Linked DNA regions of Homo sapiens: region 1 is linked to region 2. Evidence: promoter capture Hi-C in 16 types of primary human blood cells and fetal thymus (Javierre and others, 2016). All regions are on one chromosome and are shown on one strand. Each heading gives the region's core, a stretch centred on a gene start or on the middle of the fragment in contact. The rest is flanking DNA. Distances are from core to core; before and after follow the strand shown. Region 1 overlaps LOC101927314 (a long non-coding RNA gene). Region 2 holds the start of POU3F2 (POU class 3 homeobox 2).

Region 1 (3,203 bases), core at 279-2,778, 1.3 Mb after region 2:
ATTAAATGTGATTTCCGTTCCCCCCACATATAATCAAAGAGTAGCTGCTATTTAAATGTGGCAACTCACATATGGGATCAGAACAGTCATCTAAAAAAAAAATTCTCCTCTTCTAAAACCAAGGGTACATCTTGTAACTTTTAATTTCAGATTTTACATTTTTAACAAAAAATGTGATGAGATGTGGGAAGATTATCATTTGATATCAGGAGGCAACATAGAGAAGTAGAAGTATAATTAGGAGGCATTCCTTGAAGATTTGTACAGTAACTAGTGTATGATCAATCCAGGATTTTTTTTTAATGAAAGAAAGAAAGAAAAAGAAACTGAGTATAAACCTGATTTAATCAATTTAGAGCTGTTTTAGTGAGCTTGTTCCCCAAGCATTAGAAATGCTGATGGAGCTACAGTGGATATATTTGGTTATGTACCAGGATGGGTATGAGGAGACCGGGGACTTAACCCCCAGCTCTGTTCCTGACTCATTGAGTGACCTCAAGCCAGTTAACCCATCTGTTGTTTTTCAGAAGGTGATGACTTGGAGACTGCCTAGCAATTGCTGTGCATTAATAGGGTGACAGTCAGAGGAAGACGCCTGGGGCAGGAGAGCTTCGGTGTGAGGAAATCAGCCTTTGCTGCTCTGCCCAATCATGTCAGCACTGCTGCTCTTTCAAGAGGCTTCCTGCCATTGTTGTTCCAGCTCCGGAATACCTCATGCTGCCAAAGCCACTGCAGGGGGTCACCTTTAACAGACAACCTCATTTTCAAATTTCCAGACCACTAAATCAAATGAACCAGAGCAAGGGTAATTTTTTTAAGGTTGCCAAAGAGATGCATGGAAAAGATGCCTATGTTGGGAAGAGAGAATTACAGAAGGAGTCTTGCTTTGTGATGATTGGAAAAGAAAGTAGATCAGAAAGCAGCTTCATGAGTTTGGGAATTATTTAGATTTTAAATTGTGTTTTGCTCTACATCAAATTGGATTAGAATCCTTGAATCTTATAAGACTTTGATCCAACCATTTCACATTTACAAATTAAAAAGGAGCTTTGGCAGTGAAAATTATATAAGATACAACCAGAAAGATTTGAGGAGCATACAGGCAGATTTAGCCTAAAAGCCCATCCACTTGTGCAATGTCTCATACCAACGTGTTTGTACTTTAAGAAAATGTACTCAATTTCTATTATGCTAAACATTCATCAATAGAGAGACATGCAGTCATAAAATTCTGTATATCTATCTTCCTTTATACTGTATCATGTTTCTAAATCCAATAATAACTTTTTTCACTGAAGCTGATGTCCTTAAATTTTGGGGTACTAAAAGTGTGGTATAAATGCTGACCAGTTAAAAAATTAAACAAATTTTAACCAAAGGTAAAATAAATGAGCCGTATCATATATTTGGTAATCTAACATGTCCATCACAACTAGACCCACACAAAATAACCATGCAGAAGTGAAAGCAATGAGCAAGAGAGAAAGGGGACTGCACTTTCAAATCTAAAATTTAGACAACCATAAATTTGGCTGTGTAGGAATGTTAAAGAGAAAAAGCAACTGATCACCTTATATGTAAGCAAGAAGGCTGAGCCAAATATCATCCATTCAAACTATATAGACTAAATCAGGCATCCCGTAAGAAAAAAAGGATCATCAGCTACACACAAGCACCATCCTTCAGCACAGTACATTCCAACAACTTCCCAAGGCTGCCATGTGTGTGCAGAGCTTCATCAATAGGGTTTGAAAAGCACTGCTATTCTCCAGATAGTGCTCACTACATGAACGCTAACATAAATCAAAAATACTGGCGTGTGTTCCCTGTAGTCACTACTGCTTAATCCGCTTACTCTAACCCTTCCCACCTTCACACAGGGTCATCTCTCCATGTAACCAACATATTCCCCCTTTCAAAAATCTTTTCTTTCATGAAGGTTTATAAATGCTTTATTGATTTTTCCACACAAGGCCAGTCAACTTCTGACTTCACAAGAAGAATCAAATAAAGTGGCTGAACCCACTGCAGTTTCCCTACCTACATAACTAAAGTACCACAACCCAGTAAATTTTTGTTCTACTAACTGACCTGGTCATAAAGCAGCCACCATCCGTCTAACTACAAAGTTAGAAGTCCACTGGCCAAATAACTTCATGGCTGGCATGATTATCAGTCTCAGTCCTATGTCTAGAAAAATAAAATCTTGACCCAGCTTTTAATATCTGATTAACTTTTCAACAAGCCAGTTAGTCAAAAAAGACTGTCATTGATATCACTTGCATTTTTAAACAAATTAGAATTGTTTATGAACTTCAAAATATTCTGGTTCCTAATTTAATTAATAATTTTTCAGCAATTTTTGAGAAAATGTTTATTTTTTATTATTATAGGTTATTAAAATAATATGCCACTTCGTAGGTTCCTTATTTTATTTATACTGTTTATACTATTCATCCGTAATTCCTTCTGTCTCCACTTTCTTTCTTTGAACACAACTAAGCATTTTGCATCTAAATTTTCCTGCTTCAAAAATTGAATAGCATAATTCAAAAAAATACACAAATCTACACTACACAAACACACACACACACACGTATACATATATACATATTTCTTCTCTACTTAAAAGTACAGAGGTTGATAAAACTGTCATTGGCATTAGTAAGGTTTCACAGAAAATAAAAAGTGGGAACAATTAATAAAAGTGGCATTTTTAAAATTACATCAAATTTTAAACCAGGGAAGATTAATAAACATTAAAAATTTGCTCTTATAATTTATCTCCTTAAAAGGTATTTTTTATTTTTTAACGTTTTTCTTTTAATGTGATTTATACACAAGAAAACTCCTCCATGTTACACAGACACTTTGATGAGTTTTGAAAAAATGTATACACACATGTAAACATCACGAGAATCATGAACCAGAACATTCCCTGCACCCTGAAGTTTTGTCTCATGTGTCTCTTTGTCATCAATTCACTCCTCCCACCCTGACCCTTGGCAACCAATGATCTGCTTTCTGTTATTACAATATTTCTTTTTCTAGAATTTCACATAAATGGAATCATACAGTATGCAATCCTTTGTGTCCAGCTTTTTTTAACTCAGTGTAAAGCTTTTGGGATTCATCCATGCTGTTGGCTGTATAAGTAGTTCACTCATTTTCATTGCCAAGAAGTATTTCATTATATGAATATA
Region 2 (3,430 bases), core at 416-2,915:
AGCCCCGCGCTCTGCCCCTCCCCCAGCTCGAGTTCACTGGACGGGCGTCTGCACCCCGTGGTGTGGTGGAGTGTCCCTACTCCCCCCGTACACATCCTCGGCGCCCGGCAGAGTCCCTCCGGGAGGGGTCATCCTTTTCTCTTTCTGTCTCCTGTTACAAAACCAAACTCTCACCACCTCCTTCTCCAGCTGTAAGCTGTCCGCGAGGGAGGTGATCTCCTGGGCCGAGGGCTTGGGGCATTTGAGGAAATGGCTCTCCAGAGCCCCCTTGACGCTCACCTCGATGGAGGTCCGCTTTTTCCGCTTGCGCCCTTGCGCTGCGATCTTGTCTATGCTCGTGGGGCTGCCCGAGGACGAGTCCGCCTCCTCCAACCACTTGTTCAACAAAGGCTTCAGCTTGCACATGTTCTTGAAGCTCAGCTGCAGGGCCTCAAACCTGCAGATGGTGGTCTGCGAGAACACGTTGCCATACAGGGTGCCCAGAGCCAGCCCCACGTCCGCTTGGGTAAATCCCAGTTTGATCCGCCGCTGCTTGAACTGCTTGGCGAACTGCTCCAGGTCGTCCGAGGTCGGCGTGTCCTCGTCCGAGTGCGGGTCGTGGTGCGCGCCTGGGTGGCCAGGCGGACCCTGCGGGGGCGGCGGGGGCGGCGGCTGCTGGTGTGGGTGCGAGTGCGGGTGCGGGTGGTGGTCGGCATGGTGTGGCTCGTCGTGCGCGTCCCGCAGGCCGTGGTGGTGCAGACCGGCCGGCTGCCCGCCGGCGCCCAGCATGCCGTTCACCGTGAAGCTGGGCTGCGAGTAGAGCAAGCCGCCGTTGGACGCTCCCATGGAGGGTGGGAGGTGCGCTGCAGCCGCCGCGCTCCGCCATGCCCCGGGTCCCGGGTGGTGGTTAGCGGCGTGGTGCACCAGATGCGGCGGCCGCTGTTGCTGCTGCTGCTGCTGCTGTTGCTGCTGTTGCTGCTGCTGTTGCTGTTGCTGCTGCTGATGCTGCTGCTGCAGGGCGCCTGGCCCGTGCAGCTCGTCTCCGCGGCCGCCCTGCTGCACCACCACCGAGGGCTTGATGTCCGGCTGGCCCAGGGGGCTGGTGGACCACGGGGAGCCGTCGCCGCCGCCCCCGCCGCCGCCCCCGCCCCCCCCGCCGCCGCCACCGCCCCCGCCGCCGCCGCCGTGGGACAGCGCGGTGATCCACTGGTGAGCGTGGCTGAGCGGGTGTCCGTTGCTCTGCAGAGCGCCGTAGTCGCCCTGCACCAGGCTCTGCGCTTCGCGGTAGCCCCCCGCGCCCTGCTGCATGCCGCCGGGCGGCTCGGCGTGCACGATGGAGGCGCTGGAGGTGAGCAGGCTGTAGTGGTTAGACGCTGCGGTCGCCATGACTCTCGGAGCCGGACTGAGCGCTCCGGTTAAAGGAGCCGCGCATTTGACAGTTACTTTTTCGCCTCGGGCTCCCTCTCCTCGCTCGCTCTTTCTGTCTCCTCTCTCTCCCACAGCGGGCAGCTCCGACGCCCGCTCCGACGCCTTCTGTTGCTGCTCCTGCTATTACTGCTGCTGCTGCCGCCGCCGCCGCCTCCCGCCCGCCCTCGCTCTCTTTCTCCTCCTCTCCCTCCTTCTCGCTCTCGCTCACTCTCTGACTAGCTCGGCGCTCCCCCCTCTCCCTGCTCTCTCCAGCTCTCTCCCGCTCTCTTGGCAGCGCCGGCTCGCAGCGGCACGCGCCTGGGCCCCGCCCCCTCCGCCCCCTCCCATTGGCTCCGCGCCCTTTGATTTACGTGGATACCGCTAGCAACCTCCCAGGCCGGCGCCACTGATTGGCGCAGAGCTACTCCCTCCCCCTCCCCCGGGCTCGGAGTCCTCCTAGCCCTCCTCCCCGTCCCCTTCGCCTCCCGATTCAGATTCTCTCAGTTCTCACCCCCCCGCTTCTTCCTCACCCGGGGCCTCCTCCGCCCTCTCTCGGATGGGCCCCGCCCCCCATCTGTCTCCCAGGCAGAGAAGACCGGCAGGGGGGCGGTCCCGGTGCTCTTATCGGCCACAGACACTTGGAAGACTTGGATTGGGGTGGGGGGCGGGAGGCAGTGGTGTCCACTTTCGTTTCCCAATAGGGCTTTAAGATGGGGAAACGGAGGGGGTAAGGGAAAAGCTGGGTCGCACCGAGCCAGCGGGAGTCGGATTTTTATTCACCTAGGGACACACACACAGTGTGTATCTCTTAAACCTAGAGCCAAGAGCCAGACCTGTTCCCCTGTTCAACTCTCCTTGCATCCCACGGTTAGAATTTCAGTGCACAAGTGTCTCTTGCTCCAGGGTGTGCGGACACTTCGGCCCAAAGCTCTTCTCCTTCCCCTCTACCCCGCGGCTAGCACAGGCTCTCTTCCTTTTAGGTTCCAGGCCCAATTGTCTCCCACTCCCTTGGGGAAAGAACCCCGAGAGAGGCAGGCTCAGCCCGCACCGCGGCTTGTAAGTCATTCCCATCAAGGCTCGGAGTTGCTTGCTCTGACAGCGTAGCGGTCTGAACTGAAAACCAAACAAAACTCTAAAAGTCTCTCCGTCAGATTCACACGCCGGCGCGTGCAGTTTTTGGTTTAGAAAACTAGAAGCCTGCGTGGGCTCCGTCTTGTGCGAGGCTGCCGGAGTGCTGGCGAGGGGTGTGCGGCCTTGTAGGGGCGGCGCAGTCGCCAAAGGCCGCTCCGGGAAGCCGCGCGGAGGGCCTGCGTGCGCGATTCCCCGTGCTCCTACCGCTGGTAGGTGCAACTTTTCCGTTAGCCCCTTGGGAAGGAGGAAGAGTGTGTGAAGCAAATGGGCTGATGCCAGGGGAACCTTCCTAATCAGTAACTTCGGTGGGCGCTAGCGGGTGGGGTTAGTCTATGTCTTTGGCGCTCCCTGGCCAAGCTCCCAGCTCAGCTTTCAGCAGTGAACTCCAGAGCAAGACTATGGGACCATGCACCCGCAGCGCCGCTCTACGGAGCGCGGGCGCGTCGCGCCATCAGTTCTTTAGCCGCCCAGAGCAGGTGCCGCCTGCGAGTTTCCGAGCCTGCAAGCCCGGTAGCTAGAACTTGGGCGCGGACCCAGGCTGGAGCGGCGTGACCGCCACGCAGGGCCGGGTGTGTACATGGGCGCTGTAAAGCGAATCAACAGTTACTGCCGGGAAGGGAATGACAGACCCCAGGGAACCTGGATCGCGTCCCCACCTCTCACCCCTCGCTCTATCGCTGGTTTTGCCGGCGGTCGTAGGCTTGAGAGGGCAGCCAAATCAACGCTCAGAGGGAGCATTTTGGGGCCTCTGAGCATCTGAATCCAGACAGCAGACTGGAGCGGGCCAGAAAATTCATCATGACTAACAAGGAGTCATGCTCTTTGGAGAGTGGCTGAGCTGTTTATAAATCACCACGTTGAGCACCCGCCCGGGCAAGACGCTTTGGCTGAGAATTTCCACGTGTCCTGTGTT

Evidence for each region. Contacts are between HindIII fragments. The CHiCAGO score rates a contact against its expected background, and 5 or more counts as called.
Region 1: a fragment that was not itself captured here is called in contact with the fragment with the promoter of POU3F2 in region 2 in 4 of 17 cell types (total CD4 T cells, naive CD8 T cells, total B cells and 1 more); the score reaches 10.1 in total CD4 T cells.

The regions. Positions count from the first base shown.
Region 1 is chr6:97,522,435-97,525,637 of GRCh38, reverse strand. The region is part of intron 1 of LOC101927314 (a long non-coding RNA gene); the gene reads right to left. Among named protein-coding and RNA genes, the nearest start is that of MMS22L, 240 kb to the right of the region's middle. RefSeq lists an enhancer at 244-849. The HindIII fragment of the contact is 3,189 bases long and covers 1-3,122 here.
Region 2 is chr6:98,832,809-98,836,238 of GRCh38, reverse strand. It overlaps POU3F2 (POU class 3 homeobox 2), which reads right to left and starts at 1,665. Exons shown (of 1, transcript NM_005604.4): 1 at 1-1,665. The coding sequence starts at 1,365. The coding sequence ends at 34. RefSeq lists enhancers at 1-351, 352-948, 947-1,016 and a silencer at 1,655-1,724. The HindIII fragment of the contact is 14,703 bases long and covers 1-3,430 here.